Regions from separate parts of the Homo sapiens genome. Here regions 2, 3, 4 and 5 are each linked to region 1. The links are contacts of gene promoters, found by promoter capture Hi-C in blood cells and fetal thymus (Javierre and others, 2016). All regions are on one chromosome and are shown on one strand. Each heading gives the region's core, a stretch centred on a gene start or on the middle of the fragment in contact. The rest is flanking DNA. Distances are from core to core; before and after follow the strand shown.

The links. The method cuts DNA at HindIII sites, captures the fragments that hold promoters and counts their contacts. A CHiCAGO score of 5 or more calls a contact.
Region 2: a contact is called between the fragment with the promoter of PARL here and the fragment with the promoter of EIF2B5 in region 1, in 5 of 17 cell types (erythroblasts, megakaryocytes, M2 macrophages and 2 more). The highest score is 7.3, in erythroblasts.
Region 3: a fragment that was not itself captured here is called in contact with the fragment with the promoter of EIF2B5 in region 1 in 1 of 17 cell types (M2 macrophages); the score reaches 6.0 in M2 macrophages.
Region 4: a fragment that was not itself captured here is called in contact with the fragment with the promoter of EIF2B5 in region 1 in 1 of 17 cell types (M2 macrophages); the score reaches 5.1 in M2 macrophages.
Region 5: the fragment with the promoter of PSMD2 here is called in contact with the fragment with the promoter of EIF2B5 in region 1 in 3 of 17 cell types (endothelial precursors, M2 macrophages and M1 macrophages); the score reaches 7.6 in endothelial precursors.

What each region holds. Positions count from the first base shown.
Region 1 is chr3:184,133,670-184,137,433 of GRCh38, reverse strand. EIF2B5 (eukaryotic translation initiation factor 2B subunit epsilon) reads right to left here and starts at 2,076. Exons shown (of 16, transcript NM_003907.3): 1 at 1,854-2,076; 2 at 698-822. The coding sequence starts at 2,048. It overlaps EIF2B5-DT (EIF2B5 divergent transcript), which reads left to right and starts at 2,173. Exons shown (of 2, transcript NR_183721.1): 1 at 2,173-2,898; 2 at 3,156-3,764. RefSeq lists enhancers at 1,727-1,796, 2,117-2,176, 3,046-3,687 and a silencer at 1,867-1,976. The HindIII fragment of the contact is 10,653 bases long and covers 1-2,928 here.
Region 2 is chr3:183,882,932-183,886,908 of GRCh38, reverse strand. It overlaps PARL (presenilin associated rhomboid like), which reads left to right and starts at 2,029. Exons shown (of 10, transcript NM_018622.7): 1 at 2,029-2,187. The coding sequence starts at 2,063. It overlaps MIR4448 (microRNA 4448), which reads right to left and starts at 109; the gene lies at 24-109. RefSeq lists enhancers at 1,580-1,809, 1,850-1,899 and silencers at 1,849-1,999, 2,110-2,269. The HindIII fragment of the contact is 9,960 bases long and covers 1-3,832 here.
Region 3 is chr3:183,914,550-183,918,526 of GRCh38, reverse strand. No RefSeq gene overlaps it. Among named protein-coding and RNA genes, the nearest start is that of MIR4448, 30 kb to the right of the region's middle. The HindIII fragment of the contact is 6,021 bases long and covers 1-3,977 here.
Region 4 is chr3:183,938,146-183,942,122 of GRCh38, reverse strand. All of the region lies in intron 25 of ABCC5 (ATP binding cassette subfamily C member 5), which reads left to right. Among named protein-coding and RNA genes, the nearest start is that of MIR4448, 53 kb to the right of the region's middle. The HindIII fragment of the contact is 7,094 bases long and covers 1-3,977 here.
Region 5 is chr3:184,296,514-184,300,490 of GRCh38, reverse strand. It overlaps PSMD2 (proteasome 26S subunit ubiquitin receptor, non-ATPase 2), which reads right to left and starts at 1,250. Exons shown (of 21, transcript NM_002808.5): 1 at 1,090-1,250; 2 at 584-640; 3 at 47-211. The coding sequence starts at 1,224. RefSeq lists a silencer at 1,243-1,582. The HindIII fragment of the contact is 6,965 bases long and covers 1-3,977 here.

The DNA of each region.
Region 1 (3,764 bases), core at 827-3,326:
GTCTTGTTTTATGGGTTAGGAAACATGGTTATTTCCTCTCCATACCTTGACCCCTTGTCCCTAAACATCAATTTGAACTCAAAATCCTGCTGAAGCCTAGGGTACACAAAGTAGCCTGGGAACACGCTTCACGTCAGCTTTCCCCTTCTGCAATCCATATAACATTTAGGAACTGTCTGATGGAGACCATGCTAATGTCCTAGTCTTTACATCCTGGACTTCCATAAGCAATGCGATTCCCTAGTTTTCAAGATTTCAACAAACATGTAAGTGCTCACTATATGCTTGGGACTGAGCTAGGCAGTGGGAATACAAAGATGACAAGGAGCTCATTTATATCCTTGAAGGTGAGAACAAACAAGATTTAGAAACTCAGTGGGAAAACAAAGATGTTATCATTGTAACTTCCATACTGAAGCCATTAAATAAAAGCAAAGTCCACTGGCACCAAACTTTATAATGAGATTCAGAAAAAACCCAAGTTTATTCTTTAATCTTTGTCACAGAAAACCCAAGACAGACAGATACAAAGTTTCAGCTGCTCACCTCCTGATAAGTGTAGAAAATACCCTTAGAACTTACAATGACATCTAAGTAGACACATTTTTCCCCTCTCACATTTCCCCTTAGTTACATTCATCCTGAAAAAACTGGAAAAAGATGGCGAAACATGGAAAGAAAAGTTGCAGGGCCTTACAGTAAATGTTCTTTGATTTGAGCAGCTTTCCAGCAACAAAAGACAAATGTTTCCTGTACACCTGTGGCAGTCAGGAATTCCAGAGTGTAGTCAATTAATGCCACATTGGCCAGGGGCAAGAGGACCTGAAGGATACAAGATGAAAAAAAACTTGAGGTCTCGAATCCCTTTGGGTACCCCACTGCAACAATTTTCACTCCTCTATTCGTATTTCCAAACAGTGTAATTTTGCTGTATCTTTCCAATTCAAAGATAAACAGGTTCCTGCCTTTGATGTTCATGCCATGCTCTAAGCCTGAGTCTGAGACATTGCAATTTGGGGATGGTAAGTACAGAATCTATGTGCCTTGTATCAGACACAGAGCTGTGACAGAATGGCAGTTCACTGCTGGCAAAGGATAATACTGGAAATCAATCATATTTCCATAAATTTAAGCATTGCTAAGGCCTTCTTCCCCATAAGATTTCCTTCCTTGATCCCTTTCTAAGTGTCAGAGGTTAGCCATCTCCCGTCACTTGTCAAAAATGAACAGCCATTAGGCTTTTTCGAGGGAATTAGAGAGGATTTTCCTTAAATCCAATGCAGTTCCCTCTTTCTGAACTGACTGCTGAACGACCCAGCTGAGTCCAATACCCCATTGTCTAGACAACTCGGGGGCTGATGGCAATCAACCACTAAACCCATTTTGTCCTTTCGACAGATAGCACCGGCTATCATTAGAACCTGGAAGGAAAAAAAAAATACACTGCCTGAGATCTAGCCCGCTCTTTTTAAGGCATATTACCGCCCTTTCAGAGGCAAAAGGTCGTTTCTTTTCACCTAAGCAACCGTCATCGGCAAGGTTAAAAGCGGCGCAGCCTCTTCTAGGGGCACTGAATCCCCGCGTGAAGGCTTCTCTCAAGCGCTGTTTCTACATTTAGCTCTCTTCATTCCTTTCAAACCCGAGGTGGACAGCATTACGAATGCCCAAATCTGCCGGCCACTAACTTGGTCAGCAGTCATCAGGGTTTAGACAGTCCCTCTGCATCCGGTTTTAGGATAACAGCATAGACGCAGGTCCTTCAAGGGCATGCTGTTGTAGTTAGCCGAAATGAGAACTTGCTCCAGCCCTGCCACCCTTCCTGCCCTCTGGCTGCTCGCGTGCGCGGCGCTCACCCGAGGCTGGTCCTTGGAGATGGGGAAGAAGCGGCGATCGAAGCTATCGGCCACCAGAACTGCTTGTAGGGGCGGCGGCGGTTCCTCCTCCGCCCCTCTGGCTCCCCCGCCACCGCTGCCTCCCGGCCCCGCGCCGCTGCGCTTGTTAGCCCGACTAACCACCACACCAGGCGGCGCCACTACAGGGGCCGCCATCTTCTTCTCTCACGGTCACCACTTCCGCAAGGAAGCTGCCACCGCACGCAGTAGGGGACAAAAAGGATCCAGCACTTGAAATGCGATGGACTAATTAACGAAGGGAAGGAGACGAGGAGGGAGCAGTGCGCATGCGTCTTCCCCGGGAGCCCACAGGGGTCTGAGGTTGATCCCGGAGGCGCGAGGAGTCGGTACGGGTCACGGTTGTCCCGGCCCCTGAGGCGCAGGGTAGGAGTGGGGTCCCATAGATGTCAGACTCGGTCTGCAAGTATCGTCGGCCTTCATTTGTAGGTGAACAAGCCGAGATTCTTGTGGCGTGATAGGACTTGTGGTCGCCACGAAGGGGCCAGCTCCATCGGGAATCTGTAATCGCCCAGCAGTTTCCCCGCCCCGCGCATGTGAAATATGTAGCCCTCCGTATTCATTCTAGAAACTTCTGGGAACCCAGCGCCTTGGGGAGATAGAACCGAGCCAGATGTTCCCCCGCTGCGAGGAACTCAGAACCTGCATAAATAGAGAAGGTGGCAGGCATATAGTAGGGAGACCAGTAATTCCATTGAGCGCTGATTTTGGGCCAGGCACGATACAAGCATTATCTCTGCAAAACATCTTATTCATTCGTTCAGCAAACGTTTCTTGAACTCTCAGAAGGATGAAGGAAGTTTACCCAGCTAGTAAGTGGAAGAACTGGTATTGGAACCCGATCTGTCTGACTGCAGAGTTCCACAATCTTGCTGCCAAGTTATGTGGGGATAACAATGACTATTTTATGTCATCTATTCATTCTTCCAGCCTATCAGCCTCCTGTGTCTTAAGCAGAGTGGAGACGGGGGTGGATCCAGGCGCACCAGTAAGTTGTACTGGAGTTAAGCAGTAAGCTTTCTGGGCAGAGGAAAGTGCGGGCGTAAAGGTCCAAGGCTTGAAAAGGCGCAGCAGCACCTTTTTCTCTTTGGGGAAAGAAGCGGTGGCTGCGGGGAATAAACCAACTCTGTAGAGGGGCGGGGCCGTGGGAAAGCGGTGGAACGGGGCAGGAAGGCTGGGCGTCATTTGGGAGGCAAGGAACTTTTCTGTAAGGCATAGCGCCCTTTCTGCACGGGACCTGTCCAGGTTCCACGCCACAGGCTTCTGCAGTTCCTGCAAACTGTTCCCATCCCGCCCCGCGTTGCACGTCGGGATTTGGAGTTCGCGATGCTGAGAGCTGTTTCCACGTGGCGATTCCGACTTGACCCGTCGTGCTCCGGCGCCCGCCTAGGGGGACCGAGGAGTTTGTCATTTCTTGCCTCGTTAGGGTGCGGAACGAAAACCATTTGATTTATCCTAGAAAAGGAAAGGCTGAAGCCAACTAAGTAAAAGTTTTCCATTAAATGAATGCACGTTGTAGAAAAGGAATGTTCAACTGCCCTACAAATCCAGAGGTAGAAATGGGGGAGGGGAGAAGGAATTAAATAGGACACACACACACACACACAAACACACACACACACACACTCTTGGGGGGGTGTTTGGGTATGGAAAGTAGGTCCGATTGCAGAATTTATTTTAAATGATTCCCGCAACCTTGGGAAGTTGGGAAGTGGTGAATCCGCTGCCGAAAGGCATTTGTGCTTATGGTAAATCCAGGTCTTAAAATTCTGTAGACTGGTAGCTATATGGATATGATTTTAATAGACGAGTTTCAGGAAGACTCTCTCAAACTGTTTTTTGTTGTTGTTGTTT
Region 2 (3,977 bases), core at 780-3,279, 250 kb after region 1:
GCAACGGGCATCTTCCCAGACGCTGGCATTACCCCTAGACCAAGGAGCCCTCTGGTGGCCCTGTCTGGGCATAATAGAAGGCTCGCACTCTTGTCTTTTGGTCACTCCTCACTATGTCCCCTCAGCTCCTGCCTCTGTATGGCCCGGTTTTTCCTAGGTTATGATTATAGAGCGAGGATTATTATAATATTGGAATAAAGAATAATTGCTACAAACTGATGATTAATGATATTCATATATAATCACGTCTATGATCTAGATCTAGTATAACTCTTGTTGTTTTATATATTTTATTATACTGGAACAGCTCGTGCCCTTGGTCTCTTGCCTCGGCACCTGGATGGCTTGCCGCCCACAGAGAATCTAGAACAATGCCGTATGGGCCCCTCTCTGGGTTGTGTGGAAAAGGCGTGAATTTATTTTAGTTTTTCAAACAAGTCGTGCGCTGGGAGACATCACAAATGCTATTCTTTCTGAGGAACACTTCAATCCTCTTCTCTTGGTGACCTCTATCAGTTTCTCTGGGAAGCCTTCTCCCTGAGCCTCCCATGCCCCTTCCTTCAATTGGGCTATATCCCCCCTCTCTAGACTCCTACAGAGCCTTCTCCCCCAATACAATAGAATCTTTGTGAGGTCAGATATAGTGTCTTCTCAATTGTATCCCCAGGTTTAACATATCACCTGACACACTGTAGGTGCTTAATAAGAGCTTATGGAATGAATGAAGTGCTATTGCAGAGATAAGCATAAAGCGGTATGTGAGTACAAAGGAAGGGAATCTAAATTGGAGTGGAGGTCTGGGAAAGGCCTCCTGGAAGAGGTGACACTTGAGGCTGACCTGAAGGACAAGTCGGTTAGATGTTTCAAGTGGTGAGAACGGTAGCATGAATGCTCAGCAGTGGGAACGCGGATGGTGCCTTTGAGTAATGGCCAATGACTGTATGGCTGCAGCTAGGGTCGGGGGGAATGGAATGGCAGGGAATCAAGCTAACTGACAGGTAGTTGAGGGATGGATTATGAAAAAGTGAAAGCCCGCTTTTCATTTCAGGCTTGGATTTTGTGTTTATTTACTTATTTATTTATGAGAAAGGGTCTCACTCTGTTGCCCAGGCTGGCACGATATCGGCTCACTGCAACCTCCCGAGTTCAAGTGATTCTCCCACCTCAGCCTCTCGAGTAGCTGGGATTACAGGTTTGCGCCACCACGCCCAGCTAATTTTTGTATTTGTATTTGTAATTTTTTTGAGACGGATCTCGCTCTGTCACCTAGGCTGGAGTGCAGTGGTCCAATCTCGGCTCACTGCAACCTCCGCCTCCCAGGTTCAAGCAATACTCCTGCCTCAGCCAACTGAGTAGCTGGGATTACAGGCCCCTGCCACCATGCCCGGCTAATTTTTGTATTTTTAGTAGAGACGGGGTTTCACCATGTTGGCCGGGCTGGTATCGAACTCCTGACCTCAGGTGATCCGCCGGCCTCGGCCTCCCAAAGTGCTGGGATTAAAGGGGTGAGCCACCCCGCCCGATAGGCTTGGACTTTGTTAAAGGCATACAGAATAACACGAAGTGGTGAGATGCAGAAAAAAGTAGTAATTTAAGAAAACTTGGCTTGCCACGTTGGTTCCTCTAGGGACCAGCCCTGCAACTCCGGGCAAGTCCTATCCCCTCTGACCAGAGGCAAAGTGAAACAGTGATGACATCTACCTCTAGCAGTGCTGTGACGATTAAATGCGATCTTAGGCAAAGCGCCTGGTATGTGCCGTTACTCGAAAAAATGACAGTTGTCCCTCTTCGCTCTGGCCCCATCCTCCTCATCTGCAAATGCCGGGAGGCCGGGCCACTCTCGCAGGTCGCTCCCGGAGCCAGCTGAGCAGTGGGAGGGGAAGCGGTGGGACAGAAGGGCGCCAGCCAGTCGTCCGGGCACCGTGGCTGGTTCGGCTGCCGCTCAGCCGCGCGGGGGCGCTCTAGACTGCTCCTCGTGCTCTATGGTGTTGCCTTCGCCCCGGAAGTAGTTGCGCAGCTGGGGTTGGTAAGGTCGGGCCATGGTGGGGCAGAGGTTGGGAAGATGGCGTGGCGAGGCTGGGCGCAGAGAGGCTGGGGCTGCGGCCAGGCGTGGGGTGCGTCGGTGGGCGGCCGCAGCTGCGAGGAGCTCACTGCGGTCCTAACCCCGCCGCAGCTCCTCGGACGCAGGTAATAGCCGCCGCGCTCTGGTCTTCTCGCCTCTTGGTCCCTGAGCTCTGGCCGTGTATCCTCGGGGGCGGAGGCCGTCTGGGCCTCTTGTGCTGGCCCCAGCTCACCCCCTTCACCTTACCTGCCCCTTCTCTCTCCTCTCTCGCCTCCGTCCAGTCCTCGCTTCTCGCTCCCCTTGCCCAGCCCAGCCCCCCGCGAGCCTGCGCTTTCTCCTTTCCCATTGGGAAGGACGTGACTGGAAGGGGAACTAAGCTGAGGGTTCATTGCGTGCCACACTTCATAATCGCGAGTGGAAACTGTTGAGCCAGTTTCTGAAGTGAAGAAGTTAGTACAGCTGGCAGAATGGCGGTTTTTATTCTTTTTCCATCTAATTATAAAGGTTGTGTTCCATTACAACCAGTCGCCTTCTTTAGCTTGTGATCTAAGGGAGGACGAAGTCTGATGGAAGGTATCACTTTGTGTCTGGCAAAGTCGTAGGAGAGGCTTTATTGTTGAATTGAGACAGTGGAAGATTTCGTTTCCGGTTGATTTGGAAAGAAAACTGCCGAACCTTCCGAGTAGAAGTGTGAAGCGTATGGTTGATCAGTATTGCTGATTTTTGCATCACAGTAATTCATTTCTAATTTGAGAGAGAAGAGAGAAATTCCTCACCTGTTTAAGAATCTGATGTGCATTTGGCTTTGAAAATTTTCCTCCTCTTTTGTTCAAAACTTCATTCCTTCCAATTTCTGACTTGGTTAGATGGGTGCCTCGAATCCACCTGATTGCTGATAAGAAACATTGTTTATCAACACGTGGGATAGTCAGTGGTAAATAATCGAGGCTCTAATGTGGCGGAGCCATTGCCTAATCTCAAGGATCACCTGAAGAGTTTGTATGGATTTTATGTCCCAGGCCTCACCCCAGTCCTCCCAAATCACAATCAGGAGAGGGGTGGGTGGAGTGGAAGAACCTATATGTCCGACAAGCATTCCAGGTGAATTTTATCAGGGACTTGTGAAAACTTTACATACATTGTATCTTCATACACTAACATAGATCTGTCAGGCACTAATCTTAAACTCCTGGGGAGGTGGAAAATGAGGACAGATGGAGGTGGTAATCCCATTTGAGATTGCATGGTTTAAGGGGGAAAGAAAAGATTAATACTGGCCGGGCGTGGTGGCTCACACGCCTGTAATCCTAGCACTTTGGGAGGCTGAGGCAGGTGGATCACCTGAAGTTAGGAGTTCAAGACCAGCCTGGCCAACATTGCAAAACCCCGTCTCTACTAAAAATACAAGAAATTAGCGGGGCATGGTGGCGGGCGCCTGTAATCCCAGCTACTCGGGAGCCTGAGGCAGGAGAATGGCTTGAACCTGGGAGGCGGAGGTTGCAGTGAGCCGAGATCGTGCCATTGCACTTCATCTTGAGCAACAGAGTGAGACTCCATGTAAAATAAATAAATACTGTACGTGTATTAGGAAGCAACAGGAAGTGTGTTAAACATTTAAGATTTATGTACACATCACCGTATTGGTTTTAGGAAGGGGAAGCAAAAGAAAACTAATGAGCCTCTAGTAAAAATTGAGTATAAAGACCATTTGAAACAGTGAACCAGAAACACATGAAATGTTGAAGATTAGTATTTAATGTCTGAAAAGCTTGCCATTTGTATAGAAAGTTTGAAAATGACATTTTCGTGGTTGCATAAAAAATATACATGAGAATGTAGGCCTGAAATAGAGCATTTGCCTCTGGTAATAAGTTCTTAAAGTTAATAGTATCAGTTTACCTTATATATAACCTTT
Region 3 (3,977 bases), core at 995-3,494, 220 kb after region 1:
TGGCCTTACGTGATTTTCTCAACCACTTTACAAGGTAGCTAAAATTAAGCACATTTTGCTGATGAGGAAAGGCTCGTGAAGATTTAACTTGTCTCAAGCCAATATCCAGTATGAAGTGAATCACACAGAATTCAAACCCAAACAGCCTGCTCCCAGAGTTCAAGCTGTTCCTCATCTCATGACCTGAGCTTCAATTTCATCAGCAAATTCAATTTCATCAAATGCATGTGCTAGATCAGATTGCCTCTAAGATTTCTTCCAGCTCTAACTCCATGACTAGTGTGAGTCCATAACTAGGACCTGAAAAACCTGGATCCTGCTCACCTCATTTGGGACATGGCTCTAGAACTCTGCCTCTTCCTCTTTGCTTCCACTAGGGAGGTGGTGTGTACTGGGAGCAGATTTCCTCTTTTCCTGGAATCTTTTCTGTGTCCTGTTTCTTTCTGCCTGTGGCCTGAATTCAGCATTCTTCCTTGGCTCAGGCAAACTCCCTTCTACCTGCTCAGGTGGACTCAGCTTAGGAGGACTAAGCTGGCTGCTGTCCAAGTGAGAACCATCAGAGCTAGTACTTGGTCTCCCGCAGACCTGGCACAGCCCTGTTCTCAAAGGGGAGCTCCATACCCAGCTAGGACAGGCCAGCACCAGGCAGTTAGGACCGTGGGCACACACCTGTTGGGGCAGAGATACTGACGTTGCCTGGAATGGTTGGTTCACGGGGCTAGGGGCTGGGGGAGACTTCTCTGACTCATTTTTTGTGTCCTTGACAAAGAATCTGGTGGGCTGCAGTCCTGGGGCCATTCTGACCACTGGTGAGAAAAAAGGTGCCGTGAGGCCCACTCTGGGAGTCTCCATCTGATGTCATTCCCATGGGCCTCTGAGAGTGGCCTGCCCTCCGGGAACTTTAGCTCCCCACTTCTTCCAGACTTACTGATCCAACTGCCTCTTCCCTCAGCCTCCCAATACCTGGACTCCAGCCCCCTCGGGCTCTTTTCCCAAAAACTATTTATTGAACAGTCACTAGGTCCCATACCTTCTGCTGGGCACAGGAGACCAGAAACAAGACACAGGGAGATTATAGTCCAAAGGAGAAGAGAAACTTTAAGTAACTTGCTCACTTTTTCTCACCCTTTCTCCTCCTCTGAGTTTCTCGGTCATGACCTAGGAGTCCAGGGATGGCACCTGGCCAGTCCTGCCCTGGGTTATTCAGAGACACCCTTTCTCTCTTGTCCTTGGTATTCCCTATCTCCGATCTCCCTTCCTTTCCTAGGATGTGGTAAGATCTAAAGGTCCATTGTAATAAGGATGTGGGCCTGGGGCTGCTAGTTTCTGGGCCCTGGGCAACTCCTCCAGCCACAGGAGTCTTCAGGCACCAGACTCTCCGGACTAGCCCACCACGCTGCCTCTCAGTGCCAAAGGCGTGAAGTCGTCAACAGAAAGGTTTTGCTAGAGCAGCCTCTGTGTATATTTTCTCTGGGATCCTGACAGCTGATCAAAATACAGGGGCTGGATCCCAGCCACCTACCATTTGATATAATCGCTGGCATTCATACTTAGATAATAAGCAAAACAATGTTTGGCTAAGAGAAGTGACACCTTGGGAACATACATGCCATCCCGCCATGCCTACGTATGATCAGGTTCTACCCTTCAATCCCCAGCCGAGCCGTGTTGTACTTGGAGAAAGACTACCACTCCTTCAGTTTCAATACCCTTGGCGAGTCCTGGAGTCACTCTCGGAAATGGGCACATGAAGAAACCTGCTACTTCATCTTCCATAAAATCTCTGTTGGCAGGCCAGGCGTGGTGGCTCACACCTGTAACCCAGCACTTTGGGAAGCCAAGGTGGGCAGATCATGAGGTCAGGAGTTCGAGACCAGCCTGGCCAACATGGTGAAACCCTGTCTCTACTGAAAATACAAAATACAAAAATTAGCCAGGCGTGGGGGCAGGCACCTGTAATCCCAGCTACTTGGGAGGCTGAGGCAGGAGAACCACTTGAAACCGGAAAATAGAGGTTGCAGTGAGTTGATTGTGCCACTGCACTCCAGCCTGGGCAACAAGAGTGAAACTCTGTCTCAAAAAAAAAAAAAAAAAAAAAAAAAAAAATCTCTGTTGGCAGTTGTGTCCACACAAGAAATCCCTTTCAGAATCTGATCTCGGGAAAATTCTCTGCTTCTCAGTGAGGATTCTGGAACACATTGTTTCCTCCTTCTTATTTTAGCCGACAGGAAGCTCAGGGCCCTGTATGTTTATCTCAGCTTGTTTCCCTCATCCTTCATAATATTTTGATCTTTCCTTTTGACCGTCTTGAATATTATTTATTTATTCATTTATTGAAATGGAGTCTCGCTCTGTCTCCCAGGCTGGAGTGCAGTGGCACGATTTTAGCTCACTGCAACCTCCACCTCCCGAGTTCAAGCAATTCTGCCTCAGCCTCCCATGTAGCTGGGATTACAGGCCCGTGCCACCACGCCTGGCTAATTTCTTTATTTTCAGTAGAGATGGGATTTTGCCATGTCGGCCAGGCTGGTCTCGAACTCCTGACCTCAGGTGATCCACCTGCCTCGGCCTCCCAAAGTGCTGGGATTACAGGCATGAGTCACTGTGCCCAGCCTTGAATATTTTTAATATTTTAAATAATAGCTGCCATGAATCATTCTCGGATAAGATGAATATCCTGGGAACAATAAAGACATCATTCTGGTTGGATGGCTAATTCTACTGCCCTTGATGGGGTGCGATTGTGGGTGTGTGTGTTGGGGGCAGGGAGGGGGAGGATGTTGGCTGCCCTTTGCCACACTCTTCGGACACGAAGCCTCTCCCTGTGCCCTGAGATCATCCTGGCTGGAGCACAGCATGGCAGTGGCGAGTCCCACTGCCCCGCTCCCCTTACTCAAAGCTGGGCTTGAAGGAAAGCAGCTCCCCGTGGGAACTCCACTGGAACACTCTGCAAAATTCTAGATGCTGAGTTCATTGCAAGCTGTCAGGCAGCACGTCATCCTTTCTTCATCTACGAAACCTGGGGATGTGCAGAACCACTGGTCATAGAGTCACACCAAGAGTGAAAGAAGGAACTATTGATAATAAAATATGCAAAGCAGGGCTATGTCCTCTAGCGCTGGCCCGTGCCCTGGCTTGCCTGGATGTGGTCCCTGAGTCTGCCCCTCCTTCAGTTAGAGGATCCTGGGTCTCCCAGCCCTCCCCAGAAATAGCTCCTGTCCTTTGGGGCCTTCACATAATGTCTAGAGGCAGGCAAGCCCCCTGTATTTGTTCCCATTCACTCCCATGGGCACTGGGACACATTGGACAAGTTAAACACAACCGCAAGGAATGGAATTCTCCTTCTGTGTTCAGGTGCATGGAGGTAACTGGAGGGGGGTCTCTTCTGCCTAGTTCTCATTCCTTCCACCTCTAGTGGTCTCTGTAGCTCCTTATTTTTATCTCCTCCCTTTCCTAGTCAGGGAGAAGTAGGGGGTGGGCCTACCTTGCTGGAGTGGGGGTGTGGGGCGGAGCAACTTCCAGGCACTGAGTGTGGAGTGGGTACTGGGTTTGGGTCGCTCTAGAAGGGGAAAGGGGTGTTCTTTTGTTCTGAGATCTATCCACAGGAGGGGGTGTTGCGGGATCTACAGTGAGGGTCAGTCTGCTATGGGAAACGGCCCCTGCCTGGGCACAGGCCCATGGCTAAAGCTGTTGATCCAGCATTCCTTAACCACTGTTTCTCCAAGGGCCATGGAAGGGGCTCTCCCCTGGATGGGGTCTGCAGACAGACAAGGGAGGAGAAGAAAGAATACACCAGCTCTGAGGCCCTGGGGCAGCCTCAGGCGGGAAGCACACGCCAGGCCCGGGGGCAGCCTGAGCCACACGGAGGCCTCTGAGGCCAGGCCGGAACCTTTGGAAGTGTGACTAGCTCTGCTTCCTCGTGTGTGTGTTCTCTTAGCCTATAGGAACCTTCCTTGTGAGAATGCCAGCCTGTCACA
Region 4 (3,977 bases), core at 429-2,928, 190 kb after region 1:
GGTTGCAGTGAGCCAAGATCACGCCACTACACTCCAACCTGGGTGACAGAGCGAGACTCCGTCTCAAAAAAAAAAGAAAAGAAATGCGTAACTGTAGATCCTTTAGATTTCTAGGGTCAGGACTTGAGTAATTTACTTCTTTTTTTTTTTGAGACAAAGTCTCACTCTGTTGCCAGGCTGGAGTGCAGTAGCACGATCTCAGCTCACTGTAACCTCCACCTCCCAGGTTCAAGCGATTCTCCTGCCTCAGCCTCTCACGTAGCTGGGACTACAGGGGCGCCAGCTAATTTTTTTGTATTTTTAGTAGAGACAGGGTTTCACCATGTTGGCCAGGACGGTCTCGATTTCCTGACCTCATGATCCACCCGCCTCAGCCTCTGAAAGTGCTGGGATTACAGGTGTGAGCCATCGCACCCGGCCCCTTTTTTCTCACTTTCGTTCCTGAATTGCATTCCAAAGACTGAACTTGTCTTCTTTTACTGTCCTTTTTATCCTTGTATAAGAGGTATCTTTGATTCAGTTTTCATTAGTTTTCTAGGCTCCATGCTTCTTTGGCATCAAAACTCTTCTAGCTTTTTTCCTTGCCATTAAAAAAAAAAAAACCTTTTGTCTTTTCTGGCCAATTGATTTTAAAGAACTTTCTAAGGAAGAAAAGGAAAAAGCCATTTCCTGCTTTCTGTTTGAGGGAATTACTTCACGTCAAAACAAGACATTGCTCCAGGTCTTTCATGCTGGAAGGGAATCTTTAGCCAAGCAGGGTGACTCTCCCCAAGCCTTTTTACTGTTCTCTCCCTTGAGCCCATCTGCTGCATTCGTCCCCAGGGGTACACTGCTCCCCTGAAAGCTGACTGATGTCCTTTGTTATGATTTCCCTTTAACACAGGTGAGATAGGCCAAAACAAGCACCACAACTTCATTAAACAGTAGTTAGTGACAGAAGAGAAACAAGAAAAAGAACATAGTGGCCAGGTGCAGTGGCTCACGCCTGTAATCCCAGCACTCTGGGAGGCCCAGGCTGGTGGATCACCTGACGTCAGGAGTTCAAGACCAGCCTGGCCAACATGGTGAAACCTCATCTCTACTAAAAATACAGAAAGTTAGCTGGGCGTGGTGGTGGATGCCTGTAATTCCAGCTACTCGGGAGGCTGAAGCAGGAGAATCTCTTGAACCCAGGAGGCGGAGGTTGCAGTGAGCTGAGATTGCGCTATTGCCCTCCAGCCTGAGCAACAAGAGCGAAACTCCATCTCAAATAATAATAATAATAATAATAATAACCTGATTTACACTCCGGTTCTAATAGGGCTTCTTCCAAGTTTCACGGGTAACTTGGAAACTCTCCTGTGGTCATGTCAGTCAAGGACACCATCTTGAGGACTTCACTGCCTTTCTTACCAGCACATTCCATCAGTGCAAAGGTAGTCAGATTCAGAGGACTCTAAAGTCTTCCAGTCCAGGTGGTCCAAACCTAGGCACCTTTTGTTAAACTGGAACAACTTGACCCATTGTTTCGGGCACCATTCCTTCCTTAGCTTAGATCTTAAAGCCCTGCCTCGGCCCAGAGGGAATGTCTCCTCCCCTCCTATCTGGGAAAGGGGCCAGTAACTGAGTCCCCCAACCCTGAACAGAGTCATTCATTTTTTTTTTTTTTTTTTTTTTTTTTCCTGAGACAGAGTCTCAGTCTGTTGCCCAGGCTAGAGTGCAGTGGTGCAATCTCGGCTCTGGAGTAGCTGGGATTACAGGCACATGCCACCATGCCCAGCTAATTTTTTTTTTTTTTTGTATTTTTTAGTAGAGACAGGGTTTTGCCATGTTTGCCAGGCTGGTCTCAAACTCCTGGCCTCAAGTAATCCACCCACCTTGGCCTCCCAAAGTGCTGGGATTACAGGTGTGAACCGCTGCGCCCACCGGCCTGGAGTCACTCATTTCTAGGAGGAGAACTATCCTGCTAGACGGACCAGGTTTCCTAACTCGTTTCTGGTAGAAGGATGTGAGGATTGTTGCATTAGGAAGATGGGTCCTAATACAGCTTTTTCCAAGTTTCCTGGGCGTTACTTCTTCCAAGTCTTATGGGTGTTTTTCAGGTTCCCATTAGGCTGTTAGACAGAGGTATGCCCAGGGGGTAGATCCCGACAGTGGGGTCGTGGCTGTAGACACTGGGGCAAGGCAGGCTGTTTGCGCCCTCCATGAGTGCTGAAGAGACAGCATCGTGGTGATCTCGATGAGGCCCTCACAAGAGGTCTTTCATGACATGGTGGCACGAGAAAGGTAGGAGGGTCAAGAACCAGGCGTACAGCCAAGGAAAAGTGATTCAACAGCTAAAACCCTGTAGTTCTAAATCTAAACCATGGAACCAAGTTGCAGAAAGGTAGACAGGACTATGGCAAACTTCTTTTCTTTTTGGCTCTGTAGAGAGAGCACCTTTTAAATGTTTATATCCTTTGACACAGTAATTTCAGTTCTAAGATTCTTTCCCAAGGAAATTGTCTGAGGTGGCAGTAAAGTTTCAGCACTAAGATAATAGGACATAACATTATTATAAGTTTTACATAAACTAAATGTTGACCCTTAGAGGGCTGGCTGAACAAGAATACATGCACATGATGGAATGCAACCACTAAAATTTTATCTTGAAAATTTTTTTAAAAGATGGTTGACTGAGTGTTATACAATGCTTTTGTTTTGTTTTGTTTGAAACAGAGTCTCGTTCTGTCGCCCAGGCTGGAGTGCAATGATACGATCTTGGCTCACTGCAACCTCCGCCTCCCAGGTTCAAGTGATTCTCCTGCCTTAGCTTCCCAAGTACCTGGGATTACAGGCACTCGCCATCTTGCCCAGCTAATTTTTGTATTTATAGTAGAGACAGGGTTTCACCATGTTGGCCAGGTTGGTCTCGAACTCCTGACCTCAGGTGATCTGCCCGCCTCAGCCTCCCAAAGTGCTGGGATTACAGGCATGAGCCACCGTGCCCGGCCAATGCAGTGTTAAGTGAAAAAAGCAATTACAATATTGCATTTCTGATATGATCTCAACTCTGAGGAAAGACCGAAAGGAAGTGTGCCTAAAATGATAGAAGTGAGATTATGGGAGATTGATGATGTCATCTCGTATTACTTATGTAAACTTTTCAAATGAAGATTTGGTTAACCTGTTCTGCTGATTACTGTAATAACACTGATCCCCCAAACCTGCTTCTCTGCCATAGTTTCCTATCACAGTAGGGCCATTGACAGCTACTCATTGAGTCGAGGCAAAACCTCCTTCCCGTATGTGTTTATTTATCCCTGGAACTTCTTCAATTCCCCAGCTGCTGCTGTGGCAACAGGAGGCCTTGTCTTAGTCTCTCTCTCAGCCCTAATAAGGGGGTAGGGAGAAAAAAGACATCTTGTCCTCTGGTTTGCCCCTCAACTGCTTGCTGTAAGATCTCTGTTCTCCTAACTTTGCCTAAGAAGCATTCAGCTCTGTGCACCTGTTCCTAAGGTGACCAGGAGGCATTTTTCCATTTTACTCTCATGAAAATGGAATGGTCAGCCAGGCGCGGTGGCTCACGCCTGTAATCCCAGCATTTTGGGAGGCCAAGGTGGGCGGATCACGAGATCAGGAGTTTGAGACCAACCTGGCCAATATGGTGAAACCCCATCTCTACTAAAAATACAAAAATTATCTGGGCATGGTGACGCGTGCCTGTAGTTCCAGCTACTTGAGAGGCTGAGGCAGAAGAATCACTTGAACCCAGGAGGCAGAGGTTGCAGTGAGCCGAGATCGCACCACCGCACTCCAGCCTGGGCAGCAGAGTGAGACTCCGTCTCAAAAAAAAAAATGAAAATGGAATGGTCCCTTCCCTTCCTTCTCAGGCTGAAGCTGTGTAATTTGAAGGTGTCTGCCTGGTATCTCAGGAAAGTTAATTGCATTTTTCTATCATTTTATACATTATCTCAGTTAATCAGTTGAAATAACAACTGAATAGAAATGGAAAAATA
Region 5 (3,977 bases), core at 1-2,500, 160 kb before region 1:
AAGGAATTCCTAAACTAGGCCTCCACCAGGTTTGAAACAGTTTTACCTTATTCTCCCCAGGGGCCATGTTCTCATAGATTTCCTTCAGTTTGCCATAGTGTGGACGCAGAAATTTGAGAGGCTTGGGCACTGAAGTCATGGAAGTTGTAGAAGAACGAATCTGCCTTCGCAATTCCTCCAGCGCTGGTCGATACAGGGATGTATCCTTCTCCTGATCAAGAGACGACAGGGCTCAGACAAAAAGGAGTCACACCCCTTCAAGTCATAATACAGAGATATTTAACTTAACAACTCCTCCAAGGAAATGCTGTGTCTTATTCATTCATCTGTGATTCCTCAACTCCCTGCACCCTGCCTGGCACAAAAACAAATGACCCAAGTTAAGAGGTAAGAACTCTGCTTCTCCCACAAGAGAAAGCTGCAAAACTGTACAAATACCCTTTGTAACTCTCCTGCCTCCCAACATCATCATAACACTGACCCTAAAATACAGTCCACCGTACATAGCAGTTGCCTCAAAAAAGAATAAAACAAGTGGGAAAGATCCAAACATGCACCGAATCATGTTAACATCGTGACTCACCCCTAGTCGTTCCACGAGCATCTCCAGTTCATCTTGAAGCTGTTTATCCTCTTCAGACTGGAGGGTTGGGAGAAGCAGCTCATGAAGAGAAGGAATCCCAAAGACGTCCTCCTCCCACTTACCCGGGGCAGGTGAAGAATAAGCCTGCCTCCTTAGGAGGGGCCAGGTGGACAAGGAAACCGAGTGGGAATGGGAAGCCCTGGTGAGAAATCAGCCTGGGTTCTGAATCAGGCTCTACTTGAATGCCACTCTAGGAAACGGAGGTGACAATGACCTGCCCGAGTCCACTTCACGCGGCGGTGGTGAGGGTTGGTGGGGACGGCGGAGGTGACAGCGCGGAACGGAGAATGAGGAGCAGAGAGGCAAGGTGCCGGGAGTCCCGAGGGTCGCCCCAACCGCCCTCTCCCTGGCGCGGTGGGGTAGTTGGGTGTCGGGCCTGAGGCCTGCGGAGCCGCCGTGACTCAGCCCCGCAGCCTCCTTCGCCGACTCTCGGGGTCGCGCCTCACCAGCTCCTGTTCTTTGTCCTTGTCCCCGGCATCCCGCCGCTCCTTGCCGCTCGGCTTCTCGTCCGTGCCGCCGGGGGCCGCCGCTGGAGACTGCTGGGGCTGCACCGGCGCCTTGTCCCGGCCTCCCTCCTCCATCTCCGCCGCCACTGCCGGCCCGCTGCGCGCGCACCCGCTCGCACCGCCCTTTTTCCCAGACCAACTCGCGCGCGTCGGTCGCGGCGCCCCTCCTCCTCCAGAGCCCGCCTGCGACCGGAAACGCCGGGGCGAGCCGGGGCGCTCGGCGACCCACCCACCCCCTCGGCCTGAGAGCCCCGCCCTCGGACCCCGCCCTCGGAGGCAGGTGGAGACTACAATTCCCAGCCTCCCCCGCGCCATAGTCGCCCCTGGCCCCCGACCTCTTCGGAGTTTCCTGAAACCCGCGGGACTTGGCCGTGTGGGGTTTGGGTTCGCTCACTGCTGTAGATGGGCGGTCTGCGAGCGGAGTTACCGAGTTTTACTCCGCCACAGGTTTTTCTCATAACGGTGTAAATAGAACCCACAGTGACACTCCAGTTGACTGCGTGGCGCGACAGACAAACTAGATTTCTTGACGTCCAGGACGCTTGATTGCCGCCTGTATAAAGTCTGTGTAACTGTGTCTAGCCCCACACCACTGTGGAATATTAACCTCATTTGGTTTTGTTGTTGTTGTTGCTTTTGAGAAGGAGGCTCGCTCTCTCGCCCAGGCTGGAGTGCAGTGGCGCGATCTCGGCTCACTGCAAACTCCGCCTACCAGGTTCAAGTGATTCTCGTGCCTCAACCTCCCGAGTAGCTGGGATTACAGGCGCCCGCCACCACGCCCAGCTAATTTTTGTATTTTTTAGTAGAGACGGGGGTTTCACTATGTTGGCCAGGCTGGTCTCGAACTCCTGACCTCAAGTGATCTGCCCGCCTCAGCCTCCCAAAGAGCTGTAATTACAGGTGTGAACCACCGCGCCCGGCCTATTAACCTCATTTGATATTCCTCCCCAGTTGAAAGAGAGTACTCTGCTATTCCCGTGGCTACCATTTTAAATACTTTGGGGAGCCAGGTGGAGTTGACATCGATCAATAAAGCCCTGTGCTCCCCGCCAAGTTCTGGAGCTAAAAGCAGAACAAGACAAGGTCTTCGTCCTCTATCTTCTCGTCTTTCCCTGTGAAGCCTTAGAGGCGTGTGACTGACGCGCTTATGTCAGGACTGCTTTCGAGTGATTCCATGCACTTCTTACAATCTTTTGAGATTGGTAGGGTTAGGTCCATTTTACAGAGAAGATCATATCAAGTAGTAAAATGAGGATTTATTTTTTATTTTATTTATTTGTTTTGAGATAGTGTTTCTCTCCTGTTGCCCAGGCTGGAGTGCAATGGCGCAATCTCGGCTCACCACAACCTTCGCCTCCCGGGTGCAAGTGATTCTCCTGCCTCAGCCTCCCGAGTAGCTGGATAAAGAGGAGTTTTAGAAAAAAATCCCTCTACAGATGACTGAAGAAAGCATGAAAATGTATGGACACCGTGAAGCCAGAGATAGAATAGGCAGAACAGTTATGGACTGTTGAATTTTTGTGCCACCACGCCCGGCTAATTTTTGTATTTTTAGTAGAGACGGGGTTTCTCCATGTTGGTCAGGCTGGTCTCCAACTCCCGACCTCAGGTGATCCGCCCGCCTCGGCCTCCCAAAGTTCTGGGATTACAAGCGTGAGCCACCGCGCCCGGCGGAATCAAAATTTAAAGCTCAGTCTTTCAGTCTTCAAAGCCCTTGACTGTTTTAGGCAAACCCCAGAGTTTCTTCTTCAGCTGTGTGTGTGTGTGTGTGCGTGTAAGGTGAGAAAAAAGGAAGTATCTCTTCTCCCTTTCACCTAGTGGGAACACTCAGGAGTCTTCTAGCAATCTTATTTTATGGGTTCTGACACATTGAAGAAAAAGACACCTAGTACAACATATCACAGAGTGAATGTTGGGTAAATGTTTGTGTAGATACGGAAGTAAAGGTCTGAATCCATTTTAAATACCTGTTGCTCTTTTCCACTCAGTGCTTGGATTCTAGGCATGACCTTCCATTGCCATTGCCAATGACTCCCCCAGCGCTGGTCTGCAGACAAAAATTCAACAGTCCATAACTGTTCTGCCTATTCTATCTCTGGCTTCACGGTGTCCATACATTTTCATGCTTTCTTCAGTCATCTGTAGAGGGATTTTTTTCTAAAACTCCTCTTTATCCATGACTTCCTTCTTCTTTTTTTTTTTTTTTTCCAGACGGAGTCTCGCTCTGTCGTCCAGGCTGGAGTGCAGTGGCATGATCTCAGCTTGCTGCAACCTCTGCCTCCCGGGTTCAGGTGATTTTCCTGCTTCAGCCTCCCAAGTAACTGGGACTACAGGCATGCACCACCACACCCCGCTAATGTTTGTATTTTTAGTCGAGACGGGGATTCACCATGTTGGCCAGGCTGGTCTTGAACTCCTGACCTCAAGTTATCTGCCTGCCTTGGCCTCCCAAAGTGCTGGAATTACAGGCATGAGCCACTGCGCCCGGCCTGGAACTGTGTCTTATTCATCTTTATGCTCCTAGCCTCCAGCCTAGCGCCTGGCTTGTAGTGAGCCTTGATAAATATTTGCAGAATGCATGCATGCGGAATGAATGAATGAATGAATGGCTTTGCATTCATCTTCAGGCCATCTTTGTGTATAATAACAACCCACTGGGAGCTGTCTTTGGAGGCCAGAACTAGGCACTGGAAAATCATGAGGTTTCTCCATTTGTAAATCATGATAGACCCACTAAAACTGCTTTTTTTTTTTTTTTTTTTTTTTTTTTTTTTTTTTTTGAGATGGAGTCTCCCACTGTCGCCCAGCCTGGAGTGTAGTGGCACGAT